Regions from separate parts of the Homo sapiens genome. Here all the other regions are linked to region 5. The links are contacts of gene promoters, found by promoter capture Hi-C in blood cells and fetal thymus (Javierre and others, 2016). All regions are on one chromosome and are shown on one strand. Each heading gives the region's core, a stretch centred on a gene start or on the middle of the fragment in contact. The rest is flanking DNA. Distances are from core to core; before and after follow the strand shown.

Region 1 (3,267 bases), core at 710-3,209, 2.0 Mb after region 5:
TCTAAGCAAGAAGAAGTCAAAGTTGCCAGTCTCTTCATGTCTAAGCCAGTAAGCTAGAACAGAATCACTTCTACTATATTCTACTGCTCAAACAGCTTCAGAGTCTGCCAAGATTTAAGACAAGGGAACATAGACCTTACTGCTCATTAACAATCATGAGAAGGAATGTGTACCATTTTTAATCTAAAATCTCAGCTGTTACTTGTCCCTTCACCTGGATGCTCTTATTCAGTGAACAACTTGAACTATTGTACATGTCAGCCCTTCCAGGAGAGATCTACAAGTGAAATTCTGTCATGTGGATGGGTTTTTAAGTAGGGGAAGTATAAGGGTGTAGATGTAAAGTTGAGGTAATTAGGCATTTTAGAAATTGAACACAAGATAGAGAATGAGTGTTTGGTAAGGTATCACATTGTTCAAGAGCAGGGTAAAGTGATATTTTGACTTCCACTGCTTTTTGTAACTGGTGTGATATGTGGTTGCTAAATGTAGTTTGTGATCTTTCTGTTAATTCTTTCCCAATTTTTTTTCCAGTCTTGTGTGGAGGGGAGTTTGAAGCTTTTAACGTTTGAGAGGATAGATTTATCATTGTCTTTCTCTAAATCTGCACATATATTTAAACTGTATCAGTATAATAATTCTGAATGTTTAGAAAATAAATGATGAATAATTTATCTGTATATCTAGCTATGGCTAATATGTGTATATGTTTATATGTGTATATATATATTTTCTAGGCATATATAGCTAATATGTGCATATACATATTTCCTTGTATACTGCACCTAACTTCTATCCACTTCTTATGGTGTAATGCAAGAATAAGTATTTCATTCTTCTGTTCCTTTTATCAGAAATTAGTTTGGTAATAAAAGAGGGAAAATTACTCTAAATTTTATCAACATCCCCATTTCCAATCCCATGTCTGTTTTGTAATTTGTGGGAGGGCAGGGTATTCAGTACATTTCTGTACTCTTGTTAAAATGCACATAGCCCAGATAGGATTGCAGTTTAAATTCTTAATAGTGTCAGACTAACACATGAATTTCCACATAGATTGATGGTATAATCCTAAAAAGTGTCTCCTTCCATTTTTGGCAAAAATTGGGTAATGGTAAATTTATTACTTAAAATAACAAGACCTAGGCTTTACTCCTTGAACTGACATTATCTGTGACTACTTTATATTTCTATTTCCTTGGACTTAAACATGGAGAGGATGTTATCATACGATAGAGTATAAAATAAGAGATACAAAAGCATTTTTAAATGATTTTCTAAAATCCATACAAACGGAAGTTAATTTCTAGGAATGAAATTGAATTAGATATCCTTATTCTGATAAGAGTGAAAATTATTTCTTTTAAAAAATGCTTGTTTAAAAGCATACAATACTATCCCCAAACTTTTATTATGATTTTTCTTTAAAAAAAAAAAAAAAGAGAATGTGGAACATTTACAGGATAGTTTTTTAAACAAAACATTGTGCAAGGCTTTAGCTTTTTTTGTATTATTTTCATCTTTACAGATTTTTTTTTTTTTCGAAGCACTGTGTTTAGATCAAGATGTCTGGTAAAGCAAATGCTTCCAAGAAAAACGCTCAACAGTTAAAAAGAAATCCAAAGAGAAAAAAGGATAATGAGGAAGTTGTGTTGTCAGAGAATAAGGTAATGAAAATATCAAGTTTCTCATTTAGAAATCTTCAACTGTGGCCAAGCACTATGGCTCATGCCTGTAATCCCAGCACTTTGGGAGGCCGAGGTGGGTGGATCACGAGGTCAGGAGATCGAAACCATCCTGGCTAACATGATGAAACCCCGTCTCTACTTAAAAAAAACAAAAAAAAAAATACAAAAAATTAGCCAGGCGTGGTGGTGCACACCTGTAATCTCAGCTACTCGGGAGGAGGTTGAAGCAGCAGAATTGCTTGAACCCGGGAGGCAGAGGTTGCAGTGAACCGAGTTTGTGCCACTGCACTCCAGCCTGGGCAAAAAGAGTGAGACTCCGTCTCAAAAAAAAAAAAAAAAAAAAAAAAGTTTCAGGTTTTACCCTACTCATTAGGCAATGCCTATATTTGTATATAACATTATTTCTTAGGCAAAGTGAGTAATAATTCATTTAAAACATTCTTTGACACTGTATAAAATTCTGTTATTATCATCATTGTCAAGAATTGCTTTAGTATGTCCTCTCTGTGATAAATATACACCATTTTTCTTTAGAAGTAGCAACATACATTTTTTCTATGTACTAGAAATTATATGAATACTCTTTGACATATATAAAAATCTATTGTAAAAGCAGGATCCTTTTATCTGATGTTTAATTCTGTTTATGTTTATGCATGTGTTTTTCCCTCTAGGTTAGAAACACAGTGAAAAAAAATAAAAATCATCTGAAAGATCTGTCTTCTGAAGGTATTTCTTTTCTATTACCTTGTTTAACCTGCTTCTATATCAAGCTATATCTACATTCGTGAAAAAATGTTCAGCATCTTGTTTATGAGTTCTGCAAAAGATAGTAATAAACAACTACATTTGCATTTTTGTAAGAATATGTAGTAGTGGTTAGTTATTTTGGTCAACTGAAATTTTACTTAGCACCTCTGACGAAATACTGTAGAGGCTTCAATGCCACTGAGTTGATAGGAAATAGAGAAACTCAAAGTGGCCCACAGCCTGAATTATTAGTGATCTGTGATATAAATACAAATGTACTAATTTTTCTTCAAGACAAATATGCTTTCTGTTCTGTATAGATTAGTTTGGAACCATTATTATAAGTTTGTTTGGAGTAAACTAGTTTAGAGTAGTTGCCTTTGCTTAAACATCACTGTTTCATGGAAGGATTCTCTACGTCTCCTCAGCCAACACTAGGTTAGGTCCTCTGGTTTTATACTGCCATAGTGTACAATACTTTTTTTTCCTTTTGTATGCTTTGCACACCTATAATTTGTTCAATATCCCTTCTCTCCAACACTCATTTTCATGAGATCCAGTACTATTTCTTCTTTTTTTTAATACCTAATAAGTAGAACAGTACCAACAGCATAGTTGACACTATCTATTTGTGGTTTGATTAGTCTGTTTTGTTCCAGTTGCCATCCAACATTTGGAAAATAGTTTCCTGGTCCTCTCAATGAAATGTTTAAAGAATTTAGGCCATTTCTGAGAATGAAACTTTTCATAATTAAAGTTTGATTCTTCATTTAAAATTATTTCTATTATCACTTGGTAGTATTTCTGTTAACTTATCAATAGAAAGCAT
Region 2 (2,800 bases), core at 1-2,500, 2.0 Mb after region 5:
TATTTTCTATGTCAATTTCCATATTAAGCTTCAGAATAGCAAATAAATTCAGACAAATTAGTTTAGAAGCCAAAATTAGAAGAGTCAGAGTTCAGTGTTTAGTGCCTCTTATAATCCTCTGAAATATCAGATATTGTTGTGCTTACTTTTATATTGCCTAAATACTTTTCTATAAGTATATCAACAATGCATTCTTTTTCTACTTAAGATTATATAGTCCTTCATTTCATAATTCACTCTTTGCTGATTATTTTGTCTACCTCACAGTATCTACCACAATGATGTGTACAAAACAGGCACTGAATAAATGTTAATAAAATAGATGAACAATGAACTGAGATATCAGAAATTTGAGTTCTAGTTTATTGCATGCCTAATTGTGATTTGGGCAAGTCATTGGATCTCTCTGAACTTCAGTTTCTTTAGCTGAAAAAATAAGCAGGTTAAAATAAAAATGATTATTAAAGTTCCTTCCAACCCTAAAAATCTCTTATTTCTCCATGTATTTATTTATTTATTTTTATTTTATTTATTTATTTATTTTGAGACGGAGTCTCGCTCTGTTGCCCAGGCTGGAGTGCAGTGGCGCAATCTCGGCTCACTGTAAGCTCTGCCTCCCGGGTTCACTCCAATCTCTTGCCTCAGCCTCCTGAGTAGCTGGGACTATAGGTGCCTGCCAACACACCTGGCTAATTTTTTTGTATTTTTAGTAGAGACGGGGTTTCACCATGTTAGCCAGGATGATCTTGATCTCCTGACCTTGTGATCTGCCCGCCTTGGCCTCCCAAAGTGCTGGGATTTACAGGCGTGAGCCACTGTGCCAGGTCTATTTCTCCATTTATAAGAACCTGAAGTTTTATTTCATACAGAGTATAATAGTTATTATTCAACATTTAAATGTATAAAAGCAATGTAACTTTGCACATATAAATTATTTTTAAATGTACCAAAATAATTTCATATGTAAAGAGAACATGTATAAAAACAAGGCCATAACTATACAATTTTTAAGAGAACAAATTAAATTACCCAAGTAAAAACAGTCTTTAAACAGTCTGCTTGCATGCTTGCTTAAATACATAACTTTAACACATAAAATATGTATGTATATATAATTAATTTTAAATAGGCAGTTTTATGTTAAGAATTATAACTCTTACAATTATATGAGAGTACTAACTTATGACTTTTGCTTCCTTCTCATCATCAAATTCTGTTTTCTTTCTTTCTTTGTTTTTTTTTTTTTTTTTTTTAGACGTAGTTGTGCTCTTGTTGCCCAGGCTGGAGTGCAGTGGCGTCATCTTGGCTCACTGCAACCTCCGATTCCCAGGTTCAAGTGATTCTCCTACGTCAGCTTCCCAAGTAGCTGGGATTATAGGCATGCACCACCACGCCCAACTAATTTTGTATTTTTAGTAGAGGTAGGTTTTTGCCAGGTTGGCCAGGCTGGGTGCCTCGGCCTCCCAAAATGTTGGAATTACTGGTGTGAGCCAACTCGCCCAGCCTTGTTTACTTTTACAAGTGTTTCAGCACTACAGGGAAGCTAGGATGTAAGTGATTTTATATTGTTAACCACCAGAGGGAGACAATTTTTATTTATTTATTTATTATATTATGTATAATTACAAACCTAAGTATACATTATGCTTCAGAATATTTATCATTTCAAATATTAACAGATAGCTTCTTAATTCTATTTCCTGCTTGTGCCACATTGCTCAGAAAAAATATATATATATAACTTTATTAAAATTCTACATTTTAAATTATATACATACCTGCTCAGTAAGTGACCATCCAGATGTCTGACAGTGTGCTCTTAGAAGAAGAGATTTTGAGTTTTTAGGCTGAAACATTTTCTCTATTAAGTGAGCCCAGAGTCTTCTACCAGCTCTCATCTTTGCTATTTCCATATAGAAATTCATTCCAATTCCCCAGAAGAAAGACAACCTAAAATAGTAACGTTAGGTCCAGAATTTAATTAAAGTTAACAATATAGAGCAGAAAATAAAACTAATTGTATCACACACTAGAAAATCAAGGTCTATATTTTAATTTCGAAGAACTTAATTTGAATTAAGATCAGTGCACGTACATTTATGTAACTTTAAACCTAACATAAAATTACAGTTTTATGCATATGGAAGAAATTTTGCTTCAGGTAAGAATTATTCACTTTGTAATTGGTTTTCTTAATGAAAGAATCTCTTCCTATGCCCTTCATTAAATAAAGATTCAATTTATTTAAAAAATGTATATTTTAGGAATACTCAATATGTAAGACAGGAGTCACCTATGAATGAAATAAAACAGCAAATTTGCTTTGTTTAGCCAGAAAAGTGTTTTGTAAAAGAATGATTGTGCATTGGTCTAGGCATATACTTCTCCAATTTGTGCCCTTCACCTCTCCCTTTTATCTTATATTCTGTGCTGATTTAAACATTTAGGTTACTTGCCTGTCTCTAAAGGCACAAAGCTTGCAAATCTACTTCTGACACATTTTTGGAAGTTCTTTTTTTGAGACAGAGTCTTGTTCTATTGCACAGGCTGGAGTGCAATGAAGCAATGTCGGGTCACTGCAACCTCCACTTCCCAGGTTCAAGCGATTCTTGTGCCTCACCCTCCCAAGTAGCTGGAATTACAGACAAGCACCACCATGCCCAGCTAATTTTTGTATTTTTAATAGAGACTGGGTTTCGCCATGTTGGCCAGACTGGTCTTGAATTCCTGGCCTCATGTGATCTGTCCGCCTCGGTCACCCGAAGCACTGGGATTACAGGCATGAGCCACCACACCCAGC
Region 3 (3,026 bases), core at 72-2,571, 1.5 Mb before region 5:
GGCCCCCTCCTGCCACTGTTGTTGGCTTTTTTGCTGTCCTATTTCCAATTGCTCCTTTCATATACCACTTGCTTCAGACAACCCCGTGTACTCATAAGCCCTGAGCATCCCCATCTCCACACCTTTGCTGGACCTGACATGGTTGCTCACTTTTGGCCACCTCTGAATCCTGATCATTCTTCAAGACTCAACTCAGGTCCCACCCTACCCAAAGCTGGGCCTGAAGACACCATTTGGGCCACACTGGTCCCATCATATGCATGACTCATTGCATTCCTGTCACTCATGTGCCACTGATGCTTGTTTGCATTGCACTCCTCAGTGGCACTCTCACAAGCTACTGGAGCCTGTCTTCTTCTCTGATCTCCCCCAGCCCCCTTCAGCTTTCACAGAGCCTGGCACAGAGTAGGTGCTCTGTAAGCATTTTCATATATTGATTGATTGATTATATTTTATCCCCAACTCCCTACATTCTTTATCTTACTATCTCCTTCATGCATTGCCATTTAAAATTATGTGTCACTCCTATATAATAAAAAATATACAAAGGAAGAAAAGAAAAATTACAAAAGAAAGGTCAAAAGCATTTCTTTCCTCCCTTTTCTGGTTTATTTGAGGTCAATCTGGAGTGATTCATGTGAACCAGCATATTGCCTTGGCTACCTCCATCCTGTGAAATGCTTGTTTGAAGTAGCGACTGGACCATATTTTGTCCTTTTGATGCTCCACTGAGTAGTTCAGCCCTATTTACCCATGGTTTGCACCAGTGGTTCTCAGTCTTTGATGGGCTTCAGAATCACCAGTGGGTAGCTTCTTAAGCATACAGATGCCTGGGCCTCACCCCACCCTCCTAAATCTGAAACTCTATAGACAGGACCTGGGCAGGTACAAGTGAAGAAGGCAAGTGCAGTGACTCTTTCATGCCCCAAAGGCTGAGAACCACCAGCCTACCCATGGTTTACCTCCAGTGCTGCTGGCATGGGAAGAGTCTTTGAATCCCCCTTAAAGACTCTTCCCATGCCAGCAGAGCTAAAAGAACTTCTAGAAGTTAACAACTCCATTTCTTTTTACAGGGAAGAATTCGTTTCAGTTCAGACAGTAGGCTATTTATCTTATTTGTCCTTAAAGAATTTCACATCTCAGAACTTAGATACTTCTTTCTTGAAAGAAAAGACACGTTTCCAAAGCAGGTTGTCATTTAGCGAACTGGAAGAGAAATGTCCCTGACTGTGGGAGCTGACCCCTCAGAACACAAGCAGTGTTAGATTTAAGACACCCTGGGTAGAGAGAGTCCTTTACAGAACTACATCTTAGGAAACTCATGCTTAACCACTTTGCATCTTTACTATCTCTAGTTCCTCCAGTCTTGACAACAGATACAACTCAGGATGTGTTCTGGGTAATAGTTTTTTAATAGATACCAGAGAGTGAGAGCCTACGACATTTTCCCCATAATCCTGGTAGATAATACGTGTGCATGTGTGAGTATATTTGATGAGAGCACCTATGGCTATGCATAGCTGGAAGATTGTTGAGGAAGGGGTAGTAAAATCTGCAAAGAGAACCAGGGATCCTCTTGAAAATAAAGAGGATCCTTTACCCTGGCCTGGCTACCAGGAGCCTTGGGGAAGCAGTTATGTAGGAGCTTTCTTGGATGAGGGAGCAACTGACAGGAGGAATCAACTTCCCCTGAGTTTGAAGAACCCAGTGGGTCAGGGATCTGCAGTTACCCTGTAGTCAGTCCAACCACATTACTCCAGACATGGGCTCTAGTGGGCTCCAGCTTATGGAGCAGCAGTCCAGTCAGAGGCAGTCAGATCCAGTGGTGGTTGCACTGTACTTCAGTTGCCATTGGTCTGCAGCAATGAGACTCACTGCTTGTGTTCTCAGGGGTCAGCTCCAACAATCGGGAACATTTCTCTTCCAGTTCCCTGAATGACGACCTGCTTTGGAAACTTACATTTTCTTTCAAGAAGTATCTTGGTTCTGAGATGTGAGATTCAGCTGGTAGGACTGAGCCTCTGACTTCTTGTACACATCAAGGGAGGGAAGCCCAAGGGCTTTACTTTTACTTATTGGGCTACATGGAGCCTACAGAGAAAGACTTACTAATAGGCCAGATCCATACTCAGCTTGAAATGCTGACACCAACTCCATGAAAGATGTGCTGCTGCTATTAGCACTGCACTGGTTAAAACAAAAAAAAAATCTGTGGTCCAGAGAGGTCAAGCAGCCCATCCTGGCCAACACACTGGTGAACCCGAGCCTGACACCAAAGTTTCACTCTTCCACCACATCTCTTGCCACCACTAACATGGGGCCAGCAGCTGACAACTCAAAGGGAACCAAGAATGAGAAGTTTTTGACCTAACTGACTGTCTAAATTGACAGACGCTTTGTCTTGCATGGAGGGGGCCAATAAATGCCCAAAGAGACAACACAAGTCATCAGGGATGCAGGAGCTCTCAACACTGGCAGTGGACGTCAGCTTCTGCAGACCCAGTCCTCATTCCCACCACCCTGCCATGGCACTTCAAATATGCATCATACAACTCTTGACGCTAGCTCTCCAGGGATGTGTTACCAGGAGAAGAAGCACTCACTGCCATAGCAGGGCAGGCAAATTTGTGTATTGCGTTATTGACTACAGATCAAAACCTGAAGATAGTGGGAAAGAAAAACACAGTAGCTTAATATGATGAAGGGAACTTTAAAAACCTAGTGAGCTCATGCTTAGGCAAGCGGCCCAAGGTGACCAGGCAGTCACAGTAGCTCAGGGACATAGAGGCGACACCACAAGATCTGATCCTATCTGTTCTGGAAGTCAGATGACCACACCACGAGTCACCACAACTTGTATTGCACCCTGCACCACTCAGAAACTTTTGGGCCACTCAATAAATGAAAGACTAGTCGTTTCCATCAGACAATTAGCAGAACTCTGTTTTACTTCCCCCATGCTGAATTGATGATTCTTTGACTAGACCAACCCTATACACGATTGTTCTGGAGTCCTGTGGATAGGG
Region 4 (2,932 bases), core at 224-2,723, 1.4 Mb before region 5:
CTGGGCAGGCAAAAGCAAGAGAGTAATGTCCTCTCCATTCATTTTCTTAGATTAGAGGCACCTTGAGGGCAAGGAATTAATCTTACTTATTTTTGTATCTTTTGAAAAATTGAGCACATTGCTCTCCACATAGGAAAGCCTCAAAAGAATTTATACTGATTCTTTCACAGCTTTATTAAATATTTGAAAAAATTCCTTTAGAGTGAAGGTCTAACACAATAGTTCATGGTGGTTAATACAGAATCATTTTTTAAAGGAGCACTTAAAAATATTTTACAATCTTAACTTGATTGAGATTATTCCAATATAATCTTACTGAAAATGGAGTAGGTGAAAAGTTTTCACCAAAGGAACTTTCAAAATCACTAAAATGCAATGATTCATAAGGTCCTTTTCCCCTGTTATATTTAAGATAAAATCTGTATTACTTAAACATCTAATTTATATTAAAAAGTGAACCTTAAATACTCTCCTTGACATTCAATTATTTAGTTTCAGTTGTGTTGTTGTTTAATTAGAACTGAGCAGTGGACAGGAATTGTTTTTCTTTGGGAAGCGTGTGGCTTTTGCTCTGAAACCTTCTTCCTGTAACTTCTAACTTCTGACCTTCTCCTGGCCAGCAATGAGTTATACATCACAATTAGGAGTATAAAAGAGAAATAATTGTATAGAGAGCTATGTCTTAAATTTTGAAAACAGGATAAGATTTTTAAAATATTTTGTGTTAATGAATAAATGTTCAGTCTTGAGCGTAGTTCATGGGAGAAAAAGAAACTGCCTTTGACATGCTGCTTCCAAATCTGACATTGCCCCATAGAGGCAAATGCTCTAGTTGTACTTAGTTTTTGTGTATTGATAAATAATATTTCTATACATTTATAGGGCAGATGTGATATTTTGTTACATGCATTGAACGTGTAACAATCCAGTCAGGGTATTTAGGGTATCCATTACCTCGAGTATTTATCATTTCTATGTGATGGGAACATTTCAAGTCCTGTCTTCTAGCTATTTTGAAATATAAAATACATTTAACTATAGTCACCCTACTCTCCTATCAAACATTAGAATATATTTCTTCTATCTAACTGTATGTTTGCTCAGTCATTTCTCTGTGGGGTATATTCATTTGTAAATAATAAGTTTAGACTATTGCCTCTAATTCATTTCAATCTCTAACATAAAATGGGTTTAAAGGCTCTCTATATTTCCAAAATTTATATAAAATTCCCTTTGCAAAAGCTGAGCTGAAAGAACATTATAAATGAATATTATTTTGCCTACCTAAATAAAACAACACTTATGCCTAAAAATCACATTGTAAATAAGAAATTTATGTTACTATTATGTTTTCTTTTATTATCATTAAAGTTCTACAATGAAACTATAGTGAACTTTGTGGCCGGCTTCCCAGCACCCATTCCAACTCATTTCCATTGAGAAAAAAAGTAAAGTTTGGGTGAGACCTCAGTTTAAGATGTGGACTGCATTGGTCTACAGGTAACCATATCCTTTGCTGGCTTAGATTTGGATATGTGACACAATTCTGTCCAAAGTGATTAAAGGAGACAGTTGCTGAAGACTTCTAAGAGACAGAAGAAATCTAGACGTCATTTCTATCACCCAGTGGAAGTGAAAAATGAATTACATGGTTCCTGTTGCTGCTGGTAGTTATATTTACCACTAAAGGAACCAGAAGTCTACTCTGTTAAAAGCCAAGTGTAAAGCTGCAAAGAACTGAGTACATTATGAAATCGTTGAGTTGCTAACTCAACCAGTCCTGAAGTCTGCCTTACCTCTGGACTTCTTGTTCCACAAGACGATAAATATCCTTACTATAACAGGATTTTGGTTGTGGTTGAAATGGTAAATATATAGAGGATAACAAAAGTTTAGGGCCAAAGGTCCTTATGTGTCATTTTGTCCCTCTGTTCCTGACCACTTTATCTTACAGAGCAAGAGCCCAGGTGGCATGAGACTCCCTAATTTAACCCAGCCACACAGGCAGTAGCAGTGGATAAAGAGAGTCCTCTCCTGATGCCCATCCAGCTGCTATCTTCACCACACATCTGACCTAGATGGCATTCAGTTTTGTCCACCCTTTAAGCATACATATGCACCTACTGAATGAACAAACAGGATATGCACAATACCCCCAAATGCCACAAAATTTAAGTTCTGCTAATCTTAAATGTTATGTCATTGGACATTACCTAAATTCCCCCAAAACTTGGCCTTACCCTGACTATTGTTCAAATTGGGGTACTTTTTTGGTCATAATGATAATAATCCCCAAAACAACATGTGTCAGATACTGTGCTGAATACTCTACTCGCTTTCCTCATTCATTTGATAGTAAGAGGTTGGTATTGTAACAAGACGCGTTTTGCAGATGAGGAAATGAAAGCTCAAATAGGTTGAGACACTGGCCCATGATTGCTCTGCTGGTGAGTGACAGAGTGAGTATTCAAACCAGGTTCTAGGGTCTGCAGGTTCTAGGGATTCAGCTACAGACCCACTACCATCCCCTCCAGCTCTGAAAGCCCATGGATCTAAGATGCCCATATTCACCAATGCACAGGCCAACCTGAGACTTAAAACTGGAATTAATTTATCAAGGCACAAACTAATAATCAACGGAATACATCTATTGCCAAATCATCTCCATGGCTGCTTCCAGATTGTTGGTAATAGCTATACTGTAAGGTTCAGACCAAGGGGACCAACGTCAGAATTTGTTATCTAAGGTCCAGTACTGCAGTTTACTAATCCAGGTACTGGATTTACAGCTATTAAATACTTAACACTTGAGGATATCACATGTGATTAATATTCTTAATTTATTTGTACTTTTTATTTGAGCTGGAGATACAGTAGTGAACAAGAAAGAAAATACCTTCTGGAGCCTGCATTTTAACAAGCGGGACAATTA
Region 5 (3,003 bases), core at 250-2,749:
TTCAACTCATACCTTCTCTTTACAGCTTGCTTTGCCCACAGTAATTTATTTTCCTTTAAATTCTCAAGCATTTGACCCTCACTACCTCATACTGTTAATTAACTTTGTGTTCGTATCTCACCCCCCTAGAAGAATGCAAAATCTCTGAGGATTAGCGCTGTACTTTAGCTTTTTATTTTTTTGCTTGGTAGGGGACAACGAACATAATGCTGAACACATATTTGTTACCTAAAAAAGGCACATGTTCCATGATGTCAATGTAATCTTGTTTAGGTGAGTATATTCAACTTTTTTCTTTTATCCTTTTTGGCTGCTGTTTGTGAGTTTGATCATTCTTGTTATAAAATTACCACATGTAACCTTTTGAGAAGCATTAGAAGAATTAAAAGATGGCAAAAGCAGGCCTATAGGAAATAGTGGTAATGGATACGTCCAAGGTTACTACTATGGGCCACTGTGCTCTGCATTGCAAGATTTGTTTGAACATACTCAAGAAATTGAAGTTCAGACAGGTTAATTTATCCAAGGTCCCACAAAAAGTAAATGGCTGTGCTGAGTTTCAAGGACCCATGTCTGCCTGGATCCAAAGGGCAAGTCAGTTTCAGTGCTGGATGACTGAGAATTACAAAATTTCTTGAAAAAGCACTAGGCACAATAGTTGGCGTTCAACAAACGCTCACACACACATCTGCCCTGGAATTGGGTCTACTTAAACAGAAGGGGGAAAAAAAGCTTGCTGAAATAATTATACTTCTTCGTAACTACCAAGCTCATGTTTGACTGACTATAGTAATCCTATGCCCTCCTTCACATTGACGCTAGAAAAAATGCCTGGCAGTATTTCAAATCATGATGCCTATTTTTCTCTCGATCAAGTAACAACTCAAATTATACTTTAAAAAGAAAAAAAGCAAATTATAAAGTTGCATTCAGCTGACAAGAGACTAAAGGAATCTGTGAAACAGAATTTATTTGATGCCTAGGTTTCTCCCTCACCCGACGAAGACCAAATGCTGCTGATCCGTAAGTAACTTCGCAAGGTAAACTGAGGGGCCTGGCAGCATCTGGGCCTCCCTTAAAGGTCGAAATCAAGTGCGCTCGCCCTCCTTCTGTCCGCCTTTTCCCTTTAAGGTCCTCGAGGCTGCTTCGCTGCAGAAAGTAACTCCGCGTCGCCGCCGCGGAAAGTGGGGCAACTTTGCCTATCAGCAGAAACCTTTTGATCCATCTGAGGCGACAAACCAGACCAAACGCCCGCCCAAGCTGTTCCGAGCCTCCGGGGGGAGAGCGAGCCCAAGCTCCTCTGCACCGCTTCCTCATCCGCTCGCTGCACCTGGACGCGGTCGGCGCGCGACCCCCGGCCGTGACGTCACCGCACCTGGCAGCAGCCGTGGGGACCGGGAGAGAGCCCGAACGCGACGGGGCGGGGTGGGGCGGGGAGAACGAGGGCGTTCTCGCGAGATTTGCCTCCTCCCGGTCCCAGCTCCCCGCACCTTCTCGGCCTCTGTCTGGGTCCCCACCTTAGTCTACGGTGTCGCCTTTTCTAACTGCGAGTGCTAAGGAAGAGGCGAGGGGCGGGCTCCGAGGCTAGGCGGGCGCTCGGGGTTGGAGCCGAGGGTCTGGGCAAACCGGTGGGTCCCTCCCCACTGCGGGAGCGGCCAGGGTGGGAAAACCGCGGTCGGGCGGGCGGGGTAGGGCCCTCCCGCCGCCGTGGCTCCTGGGGAGGCCAGGGGTGAGGAGCTGTCGCCGCCTTTGCCTCTGCCTCGAGGGCCGCGCTGAAGAGACTGGTAGGAGAGCGCCGCGGGCGGATGGAGGCGACTCTTCGCCCCGCCTGAGCTCAGGAGGGGCTAGCGCGGAGCGCGGGTCCCGCCTCCAGCCGCGGGAGCGGCCGCGCGAGCCACCACTGGAGGAGGAGGAGGAGGAGCGGACGTCGGCTTCTCCCCGCGGGAGCCCCCAGCATGGGTAAGAGACTCGGGCGCTTCCCGCCGCCCGTCCGGACCTTCCAGACCCGGGGAGGCTGTGCCCTTTCTCGGCCTTCTGGGGAGGCGACTGCGGTCAGCCCCTGAGCGGCAGCACCCCACCCTCTCCATTCTCCCCACCGCCCCTTCTTGCCCTGCCTTCCACCTTGCTCTTCTCACGGAGAAACTGGTGGGAGAGCTCGCGGGTGCTTTCCCTCGCTCTCCCTTCTCCGCCTCTTTTCCTGTTCACCAGAAAGGTGCGGGATGGGGGGCGGGGGCGCCTGGCCACCTCTGCTAACCCCTTGCCCAGCTAAAATCAGACCTGACCTTCCTTCCCTTCCTCATCCCCTTGCTTCCCTCCCCCTCCTCGTGGGATGGGGGAGGGCGATCGAAAAACTTGATAAAGTAGCACTTTCAACTTCTTTATTTTCTGCGAGGCTTTGAATACGTTTAAGGAGAGAGATAAATTTGTTCAAAAACTTTTTTTTTTTCCTGCTGAAACTCGCAAGGGGTGCCTCAAGGACAGGAAAGCTTGAGTATTTGTTTTACTCGGGTTCTACCTAGGCAAGTGTGTTGGCACCTAAGCATTCAGTGTGCTCCCGAGGACTGGGTTTGGACTTCAGTGTTGGATCCTTTGAGGAGCAGTTTCCTGTTTGGAGTTAGACTTCCTTGCCGGAGGAGAGAAAAATACAAGGCCTTATATGTTATTTACTATGTGCTTTATAGTTTTGTTTGAAGTTAGAGAAGGCAGAATGTGTGGCAGTCCGGGTTGAAAAGGAGTTTTGTTAAGTGGTGTAACAATTTCTTTTGATAACAAAGTTCGGTGTGGGCTAGGCATTAAACTAACTCCCTCAATCCTTTAAAAATTAAAAGCAACTTAAGAATAGCTTACAAAAAACAAAACACCCTGTGTCTCTATAAGGCAGAACGTGTTCTGTAAGAGTAAACCCAAGTTTGATTTTTGTAGAGCAAATCAGGAGGACCCTATCACTTTTTGCAGTTGAGAGTTGGTACTGCTTCATATCAACAAACGATCACCGAAATGAAT
Region 6 (2,909 bases), core at 51-2,550, 1.9 Mb after region 5:
GACTGGTCTCCAGGGTACTGAGCCACATGGGAAAACATGGGCAAGAACCAGTATTTGCAGCCTTAAATTCAAGCTGGGAAAGTGAATTTGTTAAATGGATTCTGATTATAAGAAAATAGATCTAAGTTTTATGTTCATAGGAGATGAGGAATCAGGCATGGAGAGGTGTAGACTAATCCTTTTGGAATAGCATGATCTTGCCCTGCGTAGAAATCCAAGCTTATCTCATGCCAGGTCTCTCTCAGTTCATCCTGTTATAGTCACATTGGGTTTCTATTGTTTTTTAAGAAAGGCCAAGCCCATTCCTGTCTCAGGACATTTGAAAGACTCTACAACCAGCTCTTAGCATAACAATCCCTTTTCCCAACCACATTCTGTGAGTACATCCACATGCTAGTATTCCTCTTCCAAAATTTATCACAATTGTTTGTATATTTATTTACTTGCTTCTTAACTGTTATTAAAAATTAATGAGGGCAGATATATTTTCCCTTCTGTTCACTTCTATATTCACTAAGCCTTACATATTTCCTGACATGTTGAAACTACTAGGAAAGTAACTGTGGAATCTTATAACAGGTGATTCCTTACAACCAAAGGTATAATAATTGCTAATCTCAAAAATGGGGGGTATTCGCCTTTGGCCTGCACTATAATACTTTATGGGAGCAAATGACGTTAGCAGGTAATGTGTTTCCCAAATTCTCCTGTGCTGAGGATTTCAAGGGAGTACTGTTTTCTCTAAGGTAAGGTAGTGGTTCTCAAATGGTAGTGTGTATCAGAATCACCTGAGGGGCTTGTTAAAACACAGATGACTAAACACCATCCCAGAGTTTATGATTCACTTGGTCTGGCATGGAGTTCCATGAATTTCTATTGCTAACAATTTTCCCAGTGATGCTAATGCTGCTGGTGCAGTGATCACACTTGGAGAACCACTGATCCAAGGAACATTCACCATACCCAGTAATATTTACATATGTTCTTTATTTCACCATACCCAGTAATATTTACATATGTTCTTTATTACTCCCATACTTGTTAAAATGGAGATAAGCAAATAGTAACACCATTTACACAGCCACAACTTATGCTTTCTTCCTGCTAAACCTGGAAAAATTAATGGATCTCTGAAAAAGGAAGATGTGGAAAAAATGTAACTTTAAGCCAGGAAAAAAATGTTCACAGGCTATCTCATCTCTCAGTAAAATAAATAAAACTCATATTCCAAGAAAGTAGCTTACATAGAATTGATATCATGCCTCTTGGAAATGCCAACAAAAGACATCTGTGAGTCATTACGTGACCAAATTTTGTGTGGGATTCGGAATTTGGGTAGACATATGTTACAGAAAATTCTACACATTTCTTTAAAACCTATATTTCTATGTCTTCTGTTCTAATCGTTATGGAGATTTTATTATTATTAAAATTTAGACATTATTCATCTTTAAGTCCTTGGTCCTTAACACATTTTTTTGTTTATTTAGTGGATTACTTGTTTTATATTTTAATTGATAAAATTGTACATTTTATAGGGTATAAAATTAAAACAAAATTATAAATTTACAGTTATACTAAGACAGGAACATTGGGCACAGTAGAAGTGTGAGTAGGACCTATATTATATCAGTAATAAGCATAGTCTTAGACATGAACCACTAAGGATAATAGGGATAGTAATAATGATAATCTTATACATGAATCATTCTGTAAATGCCCATTGTTGTTATTTCTGGGGTCTCTAAGGAGAGCCAATAAATAGCATACATTTTCCCTTTCCAAATTCTGAAAAAAAGAAAAAAGGGAATCTGGTGGAGGCCAAAATCACTGTAATAAATAATAAAAACAAAATTAGAGTGGAGAGCTTAATGTGAGCAAAAAAAAAAAAAAAAAAAAAAGCCCTTCACACAAAAAGAACCTGCTCAGGTTAAGATTTACTGGACAGATGATTAATGGATACTCACTCCTGGTTTAACCTTATCACAAACTTACCAAAGATAAGCCACCCTTTTACACTGGAGTAGAGTAAGTAAAAAGATGGGAAGAAAAACAATGTTGCACCAGTTCAGTCCCTTCAGCAGGAAACATGAGAAGAGAGACGTGTCCCCACCACTGATACGGCTACTAGTACTGTACTTTTGAAAGTAATTCATCTCTTTATTTGAAGAGACATTTCTGTGTTTAAAGGTTAAAAAAATCTAGCCTCAATAGTTGATACCAAGATATTTGTTTCCCAAAAACTTCTTAGCATGCATTCAAGGTTCTTCATGATCTCATCCCCATTTACGTCCCTAATACCATGGCTCATCCTTGCTGTGTTCCTTCCTCAGGACCCAATGTCTCCTCCCATTCCAGGTCTCCTCACCAAGGAACTATAGAAAAGCTTGATTGACCTTCCCCCGGCTGAAGTATCTGCATGAGCCTCACACTGCACAGTCCTACATTTCTTTAAAATAATACATGTCCTCATGCCAGCTCCGATCTTGTGAGACTCAACCTCTATAGCAAGGTCCAGAAACCAGAAGTAGAACAGGTCTATCAACTGTGGCTCTGCCACATTGTCCCACCACTCGAAGAGCTTACAATTTATTTAAAATATAAATCATGAAAAGTTGGCTAACAGTACTAGACTGTAACACCAATGCTTCTCTACTATTAATATTATACTGTGTAATGAAACATACTAATCTTATCAACATAAGGTCTGTTCCATGACATTAGCCCATTCTCCTATTTTAGAGTTTCCCACTTCTTATATCTTGTATATTGCAAATTATTTTATGGGTTCTGCTTCATAATATTGTTATAATTGTTTTCTGTAATTTCAACATAGTCTAGAACAAGATGAAAATTCATATTTTCATCAAGCTCACATGGAATATTCTCCAAGATATATTATCTTCTGG
Region 7 (3,025 bases), core at 337-2,836, 1.3 Mb before region 5:
CTTTTTTTTTTTTTTTTGAGAGGGAGTCTCACTCTGTTGCCCAAGCTGGTGTGCGGTGGCACGATCTCAGCTTACTGCAACTTCCGCCTTCCGTGTTCAAGCAATTCTCCTGCCTCAGTCTCCCAAGTAGCTGGGACTACAGGCGCCCGCCACCACACCCAGCTAATTTTTGTATTTTCAGTAGAGACAGGGTTTCGCCATGTTGGCCAGCCTGGTCTCAAAACTGCTGACCTCAGGTGATTCACCCTTCTCGGCTCCCCAAAGTGCTGGGATTACAGGCATGAGCCACCGCAGCCGGCCTGAAGACATTTTTAAACTTCAAAAATATATCCTGTTTCACCTTGCTGTATTATAGGTACAGGTAAATAAAAACTACTTGGCATGCTTGCTTTGCTTTCAGAAATACAAGGTATATGTACATTGTGGGTATTCGCTGAGGGCAATAAATTCTGTTTTGCTGGTTTTAAACTGTGTTTTCACCATACCTAGACATTTCTTAAACTGAAATTGTTTTAGGTATTGGTCTCAAGATGATAGCTCAAATGTCATATTTAAAAACGATTTCTTGGATGGCAATACTCTCTCTGATTCTGGAAGGAACATTAAACACAGTTGCAGCAAGGAATAGCAAATAGGTTACTGCAAATATATTTACTCACCTATCTGGCTATGGATGGTAGTTGCTCTCTCTGTCCTTTCTCCCCCTAATTTTCTCTCCCACCTTTTTAAAACAAGGAAGGCTAGTATCAACCAAATGTAATTTAAGGCTAAAAGCAGAGGAAATAAACTACATGGAACACCTCATTTTCATCTATCTTAGCAAATTAATTCGGCACATGTGTAAGCAGGAGAAAACTGCTTTCTTGGGACCAACAAAAGTAAGCAAAGATTAAGTGTTGTCTAAAGCTTAGGAATGTTTGGCAAGAAGACTCAACATCACATCCATGACACAGAGCAATAAACAGAGGTGGGGGGTGGGGAATGAAAACAATCAGAATTTTTTTTTTTTTCGTGCACAAAATGCTGCACAAAACAGTGGAATCCCTGGATCTGGCTCCACATTTCATTGAGTACTTTCCAGTTCTTTCTCCCCTCCAACCCTTCCTCCACAAACAGACTTGGAGAGCAGGAAGGACGGGGCACCGATTAAACGGAAGAGGGAAAGTGCAGAAGGAGTAGGTTTGTGTAGCTCGGGTAGACGTCAAGGGCGGGGGTGTCCATCTTCTCCACCAGGATTCCATCCTAGCCACCCAGAATGGTCGCGGCGTAGGTTATGTTCCCAATTCCCAGTCATCCCGCCCACCGAGGCCTGGGCTTCTTAGATGTGCAGTGGCAAGGAGGGGACGTTGCTTTAGGGACCCAGAGGAGCAGTGTGGGTTCCCGGGAGGGAAGCCACCCACGCCCCTGGACTCACCCTCGCAGCGATCCGTTCAGTCCGTATTAGTTTGGAGCAACGGGAGGGAGGGTCTGGAGGAGACTCCCTCGGGCGCGCCGCGGGTAACGGCGGGAGGGTGACTGGAGGAACGCCCCCGGAACGCGCAGGAGCTCACCTGCGCTCAACTCTGGAGCGGAGCACCTGACCGCGCCGCTTCCCCGCCCCGCCTCCTGGCTTCTATTGGCTGCTGCAGAGATAGTCACTTCTGCCTGGGTTGCCCCCGAAAGCCAGGCTCCCAGGAGTAGCTGCACGGCCTGTCAATCAGCGGGGGCAGGGGCGGGCGCTGCCTGGGTTTGGAGGGTGGAGGGGGAGGGGACTCCCGGGGGCAGGGACCCATCTGGTAGGGCGAAGGCGTGGGATGGCCAATTGCTTGGTCACACACAAAACCTTCCGGCAACGTGCCTTTTCCAGGGGACCAGCTGTGCTGGAGTCAGTGATGCTGAGAGATTATTGCGTGTTACCCCAATGGTGGGTGTACTCTAACAGTCACTGTTTTTTGTTTAAAAGCGACTTGTATTCTCTGATTTCTTATCCCAGGCTTTTTTCCTTCCCCCGCCCCCCGCCCCCTGCCTTGTCACGAATTGGCGATGGGGCACACCATGGGCTTTGCTCTGAGGAACACCTGCACACCCGAGGATGCCAATGGGACGATGAAGTTTCATTCTTTTTATTAGTGGGTGTTATCTGCTTTACCTCAGAAAGAATTTATTAACCTAGTCAACTCTGCAGCCCCAACGTTTGCAGTCCAGGTTTTTGCAATTGAGGTCCCTGAGGTATATTTGTGGTGTACCTAGCATGGCACCTGAAATTGTGCGAATTAAACCAAGACAGGTTCAGAATTAGGTTAATTTGCACAGGAGAGAGGCTGAACAGCCACCCTCTCTGGTGGTGGCATCCGAGCTCCAGACTCTGTTTCTACCTTTGTTTGCAAAGTAAACATTAAAACTACAAACATCAGGCCTGATTACTCTTTCAGAAAGCCTTCAGTGCTTCTTGTGTGTTAGTGCCCCTATTTTGTCTTTTTCCGTACTGTAGTGGATTATTTTCTCAGTTTTTTTGGGATAATCAATGGCATTTTTAGGCCTGAGGGAGTGTAGGCAGGTACTTAGTTTGCCAGTATGATCCCAACTGTCTTTACCATAAATTATAGCAGTGATATCAAACTACCCTGAAAGAATTTGTCCATCTACACAATCCCAGCTAGAATTCTGACCTAATTAGAATTCTAGTTCTATCTGCAGTAGGCAATAATATCAGGTTGATTGTTACAATGTAAGTTTAACATCTAATTAGCTGGTAAAACTGGGAGCATATCTGCAATGGTGGTTTTGGCTCCTGCCCGGAGCTCGGATCCCTTGTCTGGTGTGCTGGAGCTTTAAAGTGAATAGAGATATCTGTTGATATTTAATTAAGCCATGCAAACATTTTGGTCATAGCTTTTTCTCTGTCTGCTTCTAATAGAGGGACAATCTCAACCCCAAACATTGTTACCTCCTAACTGGGTCATCCCATCCCGAAGGGCATCTGGGCACTCTTCCATGGCCTTTTATTCGTGGTAACTTGAGTTTATGGTTTTCAACACGTGGGATG

What was found. Contacts are between HindIII fragments. The CHiCAGO score rates a contact against its expected background, and 5 or more counts as called.
Region 1: a fragment that was not itself captured here is called in contact with the fragment with the promoter of CD2AP in region 5 in 3 of 17 cell types (non-activated CD4 T cells, naive CD4 T cells and total CD4 T cells); the score reaches 9.3 in non-activated CD4 T cells.
Region 2: a fragment that was not itself captured here is called in contact with the fragment with the promoter of CD2AP in region 5 in 5 of 17 cell types (total CD4 T cells, total CD8 T cells, activated CD4 T cells and 2 more); the score reaches 11.3 in total CD4 T cells.
Region 3: a fragment that was not itself captured here is called in contact with the fragment with the promoter of CD2AP in region 5 in 1 of 17 cell types (non-activated CD4 T cells); the score reaches 6.2 in non-activated CD4 T cells.
Region 4: a contact is called between a fragment that was not itself captured here and the fragment with the promoter of CD2AP in region 5, in 4 of 17 cell types (fetal thymus, non-activated CD4 T cells, total B cells and 1 more). The highest score is 16.2, in fetal thymus.
Region 6: a fragment that was not itself captured here is called in contact with the fragment with the promoter of CD2AP in region 5 in 1 of 17 cell types (endothelial precursors); the score reaches 5.7 in endothelial precursors.
Region 7: the fragment with the promoter of ENPP5 here is called in contact with the fragment with the promoter of CD2AP in region 5 in 1 of 17 cell types (fetal thymus); the score reaches 7.4 in fetal thymus.

The regions. Positions count from the first base shown.
Region 1 is chr6:49,468,612-49,471,878 of GRCh38, forward strand. It overlaps CENPQ (centromere protein Q), which reads left to right. Exons shown (of 9, transcript NM_018132.4): 2 at 1,548-1,667; 3 at 2,363-2,417. The coding sequence starts at 1,566. Among named protein-coding and RNA genes, the nearest start is that of CENPQ, 6.9 kb to the left of the region's middle. The HindIII fragment of the contact is 2,807 bases long and covers 557-3,267 here.
Region 2 is chr6:49,451,807-49,454,606 of GRCh38, forward strand. It overlaps MMUT (methylmalonyl-CoA mutase), which reads right to left. Exons shown (of 13, transcript NM_000255.4): 5 at 1,779-1,950. Among named protein-coding and RNA genes, the nearest start is that of MMUT, 10 kb to the right of the region's middle. The HindIII fragment of the contact is 2,448 bases long and covers 27-2,474 here.
Region 3 is chr6:46,008,180-46,011,205 of GRCh38, forward strand. The region is part of intron 1 of CLIC5 (chloride intracellular channel 5); the gene reads right to left. Among named protein-coding and RNA genes, the nearest start is that of CLIC5, 6.2 kb to the right of the region's middle. The HindIII fragment of the contact is 3,501 bases long and covers 1-3,026 here.
Region 4 is chr6:46,126,248-46,129,179 of GRCh38, forward strand. It overlaps a transcript of CLIC5 not described here. Among named protein-coding and RNA genes, the nearest start is that of ENPP4, 2.3 kb to the right of the region's middle. The HindIII fragment of the contact is 3,764 bases long and covers 1-2,932 here.
Region 5 is chr6:47,476,290-47,479,292 of GRCh38, forward strand. CD2AP (CD2 associated protein) reads left to right here and starts at 1,500. Exons shown (of 18, transcript NM_012120.3): 1 at 1,500-1,959. The coding sequence starts at 1,956. It overlaps CD2AP-DT (CD2AP divergent transcript), which reads right to left and starts at 1,783. Exons shown (of 1, transcript NR_187257.1): 1 at 954-1,783. RefSeq lists a silencer at 1,262-1,771 and an enhancer at 2,058-2,784. The HindIII fragment of the contact is 1,754 bases long and covers 731-2,484 here.
Region 6 is chr6:49,332,674-49,335,582 of GRCh38, forward strand. No RefSeq gene overlaps it. Among named protein-coding and RNA genes, the nearest start is that of MMUT, 130 kb to the right of the region's middle. The HindIII fragment of the contact is 2,167 bases long and covers 218-2,384 here.
Region 7 is chr6:46,169,394-46,172,418 of GRCh38, forward strand. ENPP5 (ectonucleotide pyrophosphatase/phosphodiesterase family member 5) reads right to left here and starts at 1,587. Exons shown (of 5, transcript NM_001290072.2): 1 at 1,415-1,587; 2 at 660-721. RefSeq lists a silencer at 1,759-1,818. The HindIII fragment of the contact is 3,442 bases long and covers 905-3,025 here.